Linked DNA regions of Homo sapiens: region 1 is linked to region 2. The links are contacts of gene promoters, found by promoter capture Hi-C in human tissues and cell types (Jung and others, 2019). All regions are on one chromosome and are shown on one strand. Each heading gives the region's core, a stretch centred on a gene start or on the middle of the fragment in contact. The rest is flanking DNA. Distances are from core to core; before and after follow the strand shown. Region 1 has its middle 4.0 kb from the start of EML1. Region 2 holds the start of CCDC85C (coiled-coil domain containing 85C).

Region 1 (3,190 bases), core at 270-2,769, 190 kb before region 2:
AAAATACAAAAAATTAGCCAGACATGGTGGTGTGCACCTATAGTCCTAGCTATTTGGGAAGCTGAGGTGGGAGAATCACCTGAGCCCAGGAGGTAGAGGTTGCAGTGAGCCAAGATCACACCACTGCACTCCAGCCTAGATGACAGAGTAAGACCCTGTCACAAAAAAAAAGGAAAAGAAAAAAAGAAAACTTTGGCAGGGAAAGGAAATGGGGGGAGGGGCCAAAGTTGGCAGAGGGCCAGGTAAAGTGTCCTCTTGCGCCCGCCTGGCACAGGTGGGTTCTCTGCCTCTCTAAGGCAGCAGGCAGGTGCTATGGAGAAGCGGCTTTCAAAGGGTGAGACTTAACACCCAGATGCACATTTCATCTTCCTCATTTCCCATCTGTCTATTCCAGTGTTCATGCTCTCTCTATTCCACTTTGCAGTTTTATACTTCAGGATATGTTGGATGATTGGCATAAAAAGCTGAGGTGTGGTATTTCTGAACTTGAAAAGGAAGTAATAATCATGAATAATTAGAAGATGGTTTTCTTTAAAGCCGGGTGTGGTGGTGTGTGCCTGTAGTCCTAGTTATTTGGGAGGCTGAGGTGCGAGGACGACTTGGGCCCAGGAGGTTGAGGCTGCAGTGAGCTATGATTGCACCACTGCATTCCATACAGTGCAGCTGGGGCAATGCTCAACTCCAGCCTGGGCAACAGAGTGAGACCCGATCTTAAAAAGAAAAAAAGAATGTTAGCATTCCTTATGTTTAATGTTATGATATTTGGTGGCCACAATTTAGACATGGGAAAGGAGACATATATTTAAAACTTCAGCTGCCAAATTGAGCTGGAGATTTTCTTAGAAGATATTATTTCCACTAAAGTTACAAATAAGACAATTAAGAACTCAGTCCACTTTCTTTTGAGATGATAAAGAAGATCATTGCTCTCTTAACCTAGAGTATTAAACAGCTATGTTTTTCCCACAGTGGTAAAATCTTACTCTAAAAAAAAGCTAAATTTAGAATAATTACAATGATATGCATGTTAAGTCACTTAGGTATAATCTACACAGCATTAAAAAAGATCTTTGGGGAAAGTTCAAGAAAAATCTCTGAAAATTAATAATGTGTGATGTTTTTGCTAAACATTTTAACAGACTGATATTCCACGCCATTGTGAGTTAATTTATATCCTGAGCACCAAAAATGTTGTCATTGTAATAAATGATGTGTACTCTGTAGGACAATATAACCACAGTGTTCAGTGGAATTAATAGCAGCATTTGTACAACGTGTGAAAAAGAGAAAGGAAAGTGAAAGCTCTGTAGCCTTTATTCATAGAAAGGCAATTTTTAAAAATCACCCAGAAATGTGCAGCCTTGTGCATCTATTGTTTAATCCAACACTCTACCAAAAATAGTTACACAGTGCCAGGCCCTATGCTTGGGGCTGGGAATGTAGCACATAGAACACAGTGCTTTCCGAACTGCAGGTAGCCGTGAAGTCAATTAAAGAGTCATCATTGGCAAGGTTTAAAATGAAATAGAGGCCAGGCATGGTGGCTTACGCCTGTAATCCCAGCACTTTGGGAAGCCGAGGTGGGTGGATCACCTGAGGTCAGGAGTTCGAAACCAGCCTGGCCAACATGGTGAAACCCCATCTCTACTAAAAATACAAAAATTAGCTGGGCGTAGAGGTGAGCACTTGTAGTCCCAGCTACTCAGGAGGCTGAGGCATGAGAGTCACTTGAACCCAGGAGGTGGAGGTTGCAATGAGCCGAGATCGTGCCACTGCACTCTATCCTGGACAATGGAGCAAGATGCTGTCTCAAAAAAAATAAATAAATGAATAAAAAGAAAGAAAGAAATAGAAAATTCCACTTCTGGGTACTCAAAATTGTTGAAAGCAGGGACTTGGACAGATATTCATACACCCATGTTCATAGCAGCATTATTCACAATAGCCGAGGGGTGGGAGCAACCTGAGTATCTACCGATGGATGAATGGTTAAACAAAATGTGGTCCATCCATAGGGTGGAATCTTATTTCATCCTAAAAAGGAAGGGAATTCTGATACATGCTATCAGCATGTATCAAGACATTATGCAGCGTGAAATAAACCAGTCCCCAAAAGCGCAAATAGTCTATGACTCCACTTACACGAAGTGCCTAGGGTTGTCAAATTCATAGAGACAGAGAGTGGAATGGTGGTTGCCAAGGGCTGGGGAGAGGAAGGAATAGTAAGTGAGTGCTTAATGGGCGCAAAGTTTCCCTTTGGAATGATGAGAAAGTTCTGCAGATGAATGGTGGTGTGGGTAGCAGAACAATGTGAATCTCCTCATGCTTTATAACTGGGCACTTAAAGATGGTTACAATGGTAACTTTTATGTCGTGTGTGTACACATACACACACACACACACACATATTAGGGAGATATTTTACAGTCTCCATGTGTTGCCCAGGTTGGAGTGCAGTGGCTATTCACAAGTGCAATCAGAGCACACTAGAGCCTCCAACTCCTGGGCTCAAACGATCCTCCCTCCTCAGCCTCCCAAGCAGCTGAAACTACAGACACACACCACCATGCCTGGCTGTTGTGTATATTCTAACACAGTTTTTAACATGAAATGGAATAGACAATTTTGGACTGCACTGAGCATAGTAAGAACGAGTATTTGTGCTGGAAACATTGGTATTTACTTACAATGTACCTACATGTGCTGAGTTGCGATGTATAATACAAGGCATTTCTTGTTGTGGGTCACGGTCACAATCTAAGAGACATTTGGACATATAATAATTGTACAGATAGTTGTATAAATACAAATGATAAGCGCCAAGGAACAAAGCTAGGTGGAAGGATTTCAGATTATTTCTGAGGGTCTGGACTGGAATAAGGAGGAAAAGAAGCTACCAGAACAGCCGTGGGTAGAGCAAGGGGCAGCCACATCAGGCAAGCTAGGGTAGGAGATGGGGAGGCCCTGCTTGCAGCGGGCCTTGGACAGCCTGTCAGGGGCTTCTGATTTTACTCTAAGAGCAGAGAAAAGTTGACCTTCAGTTAATGTCATGGGCTTAACTGTGTCCCTGCAAAAATTCATCTGTTGAAGTCCTAATGCCCAGGACCTCAGAATGTGACCTTACTTGAAGATGGGGCCTTTACAGATGTAATCAAGTTAAAATGAGGGCATTAGGCTGGGCCCGAATCCA
Region 2 (3,160 bases), core at 1-2,500:
CGTGGGCCGCTCACTGTCGCGTGCGCGGATTTGATCTCGTTGCAGGTTCCGGGGGAGGGACCCCCCCCCGCCCCGCCCCGCCCCGCCTGCTGGCGGTAGACGCGCCGTAAATGCGCTTTGGGGACCGGAGGATAACGAGACAGACTTACAGGCAGTGGGAAGCCCGGGGGTCCCGCGAGGCCGCCGGTGGGGAGTTCTGTGGCCGGCTCGGCGCCCCCGGACCCCGGCGTTCAGGCCCCAGTGGGAGACCTTCCCACCCTTCCCAGTGGTTTCCACCCCGCGAATTGCAGATTATCTCCCGAATCCCAGGGATTTAGCGGTCGAGTGAGCGGAGGTGGAGCGGGGCTCCGAGCGCCGCTCCGGGCAGGGGGCAGGTTCCCGGAGCTCTCGCCCCATCGGGGCAGAGAGTACTGACCGCGCTGCGGGACGCGGCTGGCAAGGCCCTGGCCCTGCAGGGGCGCGGACGCCAGCGTTTAGCTCAGCCCTGGGCTAGGAGTGGAGACGCAGCCCCGCCGCGTGCTCCGGCAGGGGACCCGGGTGGGGACGGGGGCGGAGGAGCCTGGGGGCAGGGAAGGGGACAAAGAGCCGCCCTGCTGCGGGGAAGAGCGACCCCCATGTCACAGTCCTATTGTTCGCTGTGTCTCCGACTGCCCTGAACTCTGGTGCCCCCGGGAGGGAGAAGGGGCGCCGTCGCCCGGATCGTGGGTATTTGTTTATCTGGGGAGAGGGAAGAGGACCGGGGACGCGGGCCGGGGAGGGGGCTCGACTGCTATTTTCGCGCGTCGCCTTTAAGGGAAGCCCGGCCCTACCTTTCCCACCGTCCCCCTCCCCGCAGCCGTACCTGCATTTTAAAAGCGCCCTGTAGCCCTGGGATTGGCTAAGGCCGCGTCCTCCGGGCGCAGAAACTTGAACCGCCGGGAGCCGGCCGCGGGCGGGGGTCGGAAACCCCGCGGATGGACCGTACCACCGCCGCAGCTTCCCCCGCGCGCGCCCCGCCCCTCCCGCACACCCCCGGAGCGGCCCAATCGCCCGGCCGGGAGGGCGGGACCGCGGCCGGAACGCGCCTCTGAGAGGGCACTGGACGGGCGGGCGCACCGCGCAGGGGGACGGCGGGGGCCGCGCCTCTGCTCCCCAGTCGCCCTCGGGGGCGGGGCCGGGCCTCGGAGACCCGCCCACTCTCCGCCCGGGGTGGGCGGGGCGGCGGGGGCTCCGGGAGCTGGGCCGGGGGCGGGCCTCCGCCTGCTTCTCCAGAACCCTGAGAGCGCCCGGCACCGCGGCCGCCGACGCAGCAGCCGCCTCCGCTCGTCAACCCCGAGGCGCGCGGGCTCCCGGGCGGCCCCGGCGGGCGCGGCGAGAGGACGCGCCAGGCGGCGCGGGGCGGGCCGCACGCGCCCCCGGCCGCCCCCCGCCCGCGCGCGGACCGGCCCAGCGGAGCCCCGGCGCGGGGAAGCGCCGGCCGGGCGAGGGCGAGGGCGATGCCGCGGTGACGGCCCCGCCATGGCTAAGCCCGCGGCGACGGCGGCGGCGGCGTCGGAGGAGCTGAGCCAGGTGCCGGACGAGGAGCTGCTGCGCTGGAGCAAGGAGGAGCTGGCGCGGCGGCTGCGGCGCGCCGAGGGCGAGAAGGTGGGCCTCATGCTGGAGCACGGCGGCCTGATGCGCGACGTGAACCGGCGGCTGCAGCAGCACCTGCTGGAGATCCGCGGCCTCAAGGACGTGAACCAGCGGCTGCAGGACGACAACCAGGAGCTGCGCGAGCTCTGCTGCTTCCTCGACGACGACCGGCAGAAGGGGCGCAAGCTGGCGCGCGAGTGGCAGCGCTTCGGGCGCCACGCGGCCGGCGCCGTGTGGCACGAGGTGGCCCGCTCGCAGCAGAAGCTGCGCGAGCTCGAGGCGCGCCAGGAGGCCCTGCTGCGCGAGAACCTGGAGCTCAAGGAGCTGGTGCTGCTGCTGGACGAGGAGCGCGCGGCACTGGCGGCGACGGGGGCCGCAAGCGGTGGCGGCGGCGGCGGGGGCGGCGCCGGCTCCCGCAGCTCCATCGACAGCCAGGCCAGCCTGAGCGGGCCGCTGTCGGGTGGCGCGCCCGGCGCGGGGGCCCGCGACGTGGGCGACGGCAGCAGTACGTCCAGCGCGGGCAGCGGCGGCAGCCCCGACCACCACCACCACGTCCCACCCCCGCTGCTGCCCCCCGGGCCGCACAAGGCCCCCGACGGCAAGGCAGGAGCCACACGTCGGTCCCTGGACGACTTGTCGGCGCCGCCGCACCACCGCAGCATCCCCAACGGCCTGCACGGTAAGGACTACACGGGCCGGGCAGCGCGGGTCTCCCTGGCTGCAGCCCTTTTCCCAGGCTGCGGCGAGAGGAGGTGGTCCCTGGCTGTCCCACTCATGCGGCCGCCACTCCAGACTCCTCCAGCTGTCATGGATCCTGGGCCAGGGGATCCCGCACTCACCCAAAGTGGGGCTTTGGGCGGTGGTGGGCCGGTTCAGTGGTGGAGCGTCTTTTTGTCCAGCTCAGAACCTGCTGCCGGTCCGGTCCCAGAAAAGTTTCTAGCGGGTGTAGTTGCCAAAATTAGGGTCTGTCACTGCTGGGCTGGCGGTGGGCGCCTCATCCCAGCCTTGGAAATCCTTGCCTAGTAGCGGGAAGTTCTAAACAGCAAAGGATACAAGGCCCCTTGAGCGCAAGTGAATTTCCCCTCTTGCAGCAACAGGTGTCCTCCAAACCAAGCAGCGTCCACGTGTGTGCGGTGGCTGGAGTTCTGCAGTGGGGTGTGGGGATTGGGAAGGTGCACAGGCAGCCGCTTGAGACCCAGAGGCAGTTGGGGAGAGGCCTGGGGCTCAGAGCCTTTCTTGTTTGCCATAAATTCCGCCCTTCTAGTCCTGGGACCTTTCTCAGCCGAGACTCTAAGACTTTCCCGAGGGAGATGTATTTGGAACGGATTCTAGCTTTTCTCCTCTGTGTGCCTCAGTTTCTTTGTCTGTGAAATGGAGATGATGACCTCTGCCTCGTGGGTTTGAGGTGGAGATAAACCTTCTGAAGGGATTTATAAACTGTTGATCGCCTTACAGGAAGTGCCGTGGTCATCCGTGACCAGGGTGTGGGTGGGAGGAACTTTGGCCTCTGTCAGCTTCTGTCTTCTACGCCCATGTTACTGCTGCGCCC

The links. The method cuts DNA at HindIII sites, captures the fragments that hold promoters and counts their contacts. A contact is called where the count stands out against the background at its distance.
Region 1: a contact is called between a fragment that was not itself captured here and the fragment with the promoter of CCDC85C in region 2, in 1 of the 25 tissues and cell types used here (mesendoderm cells).

Annotation. Positions count from the first base shown.
Region 1 is chr14:99,787,848-99,791,037 of GRCh38, reverse strand. It overlaps a transcript of EML1 not described here. Among named protein-coding and RNA genes, the nearest start is that of EML1, 4.0 kb to the left of the region's middle. RefSeq lists an enhancer at 1,268-1,407. The HindIII fragment of the contact is 8,796 bases long and covers 1-3,190 here.
Region 2 is chr14:99,602,297-99,605,456 of GRCh38, reverse strand. CCDC85C (coiled-coil domain containing 85C) reads left to right here and starts at 1,250. Exons shown (of 6, transcript NM_001144995.2): 1 at 1,250-2,290. The coding sequence starts at 1,498. It also overlaps a transcript of HHIPL1 not described here. RefSeq lists silencers at 46-195, 376-445, 506-645, 786-1,315 and enhancers at 1,576-1,695, 2,402-3,055. The HindIII fragment of the contact is 22,433 bases long and covers 1-3,160 here.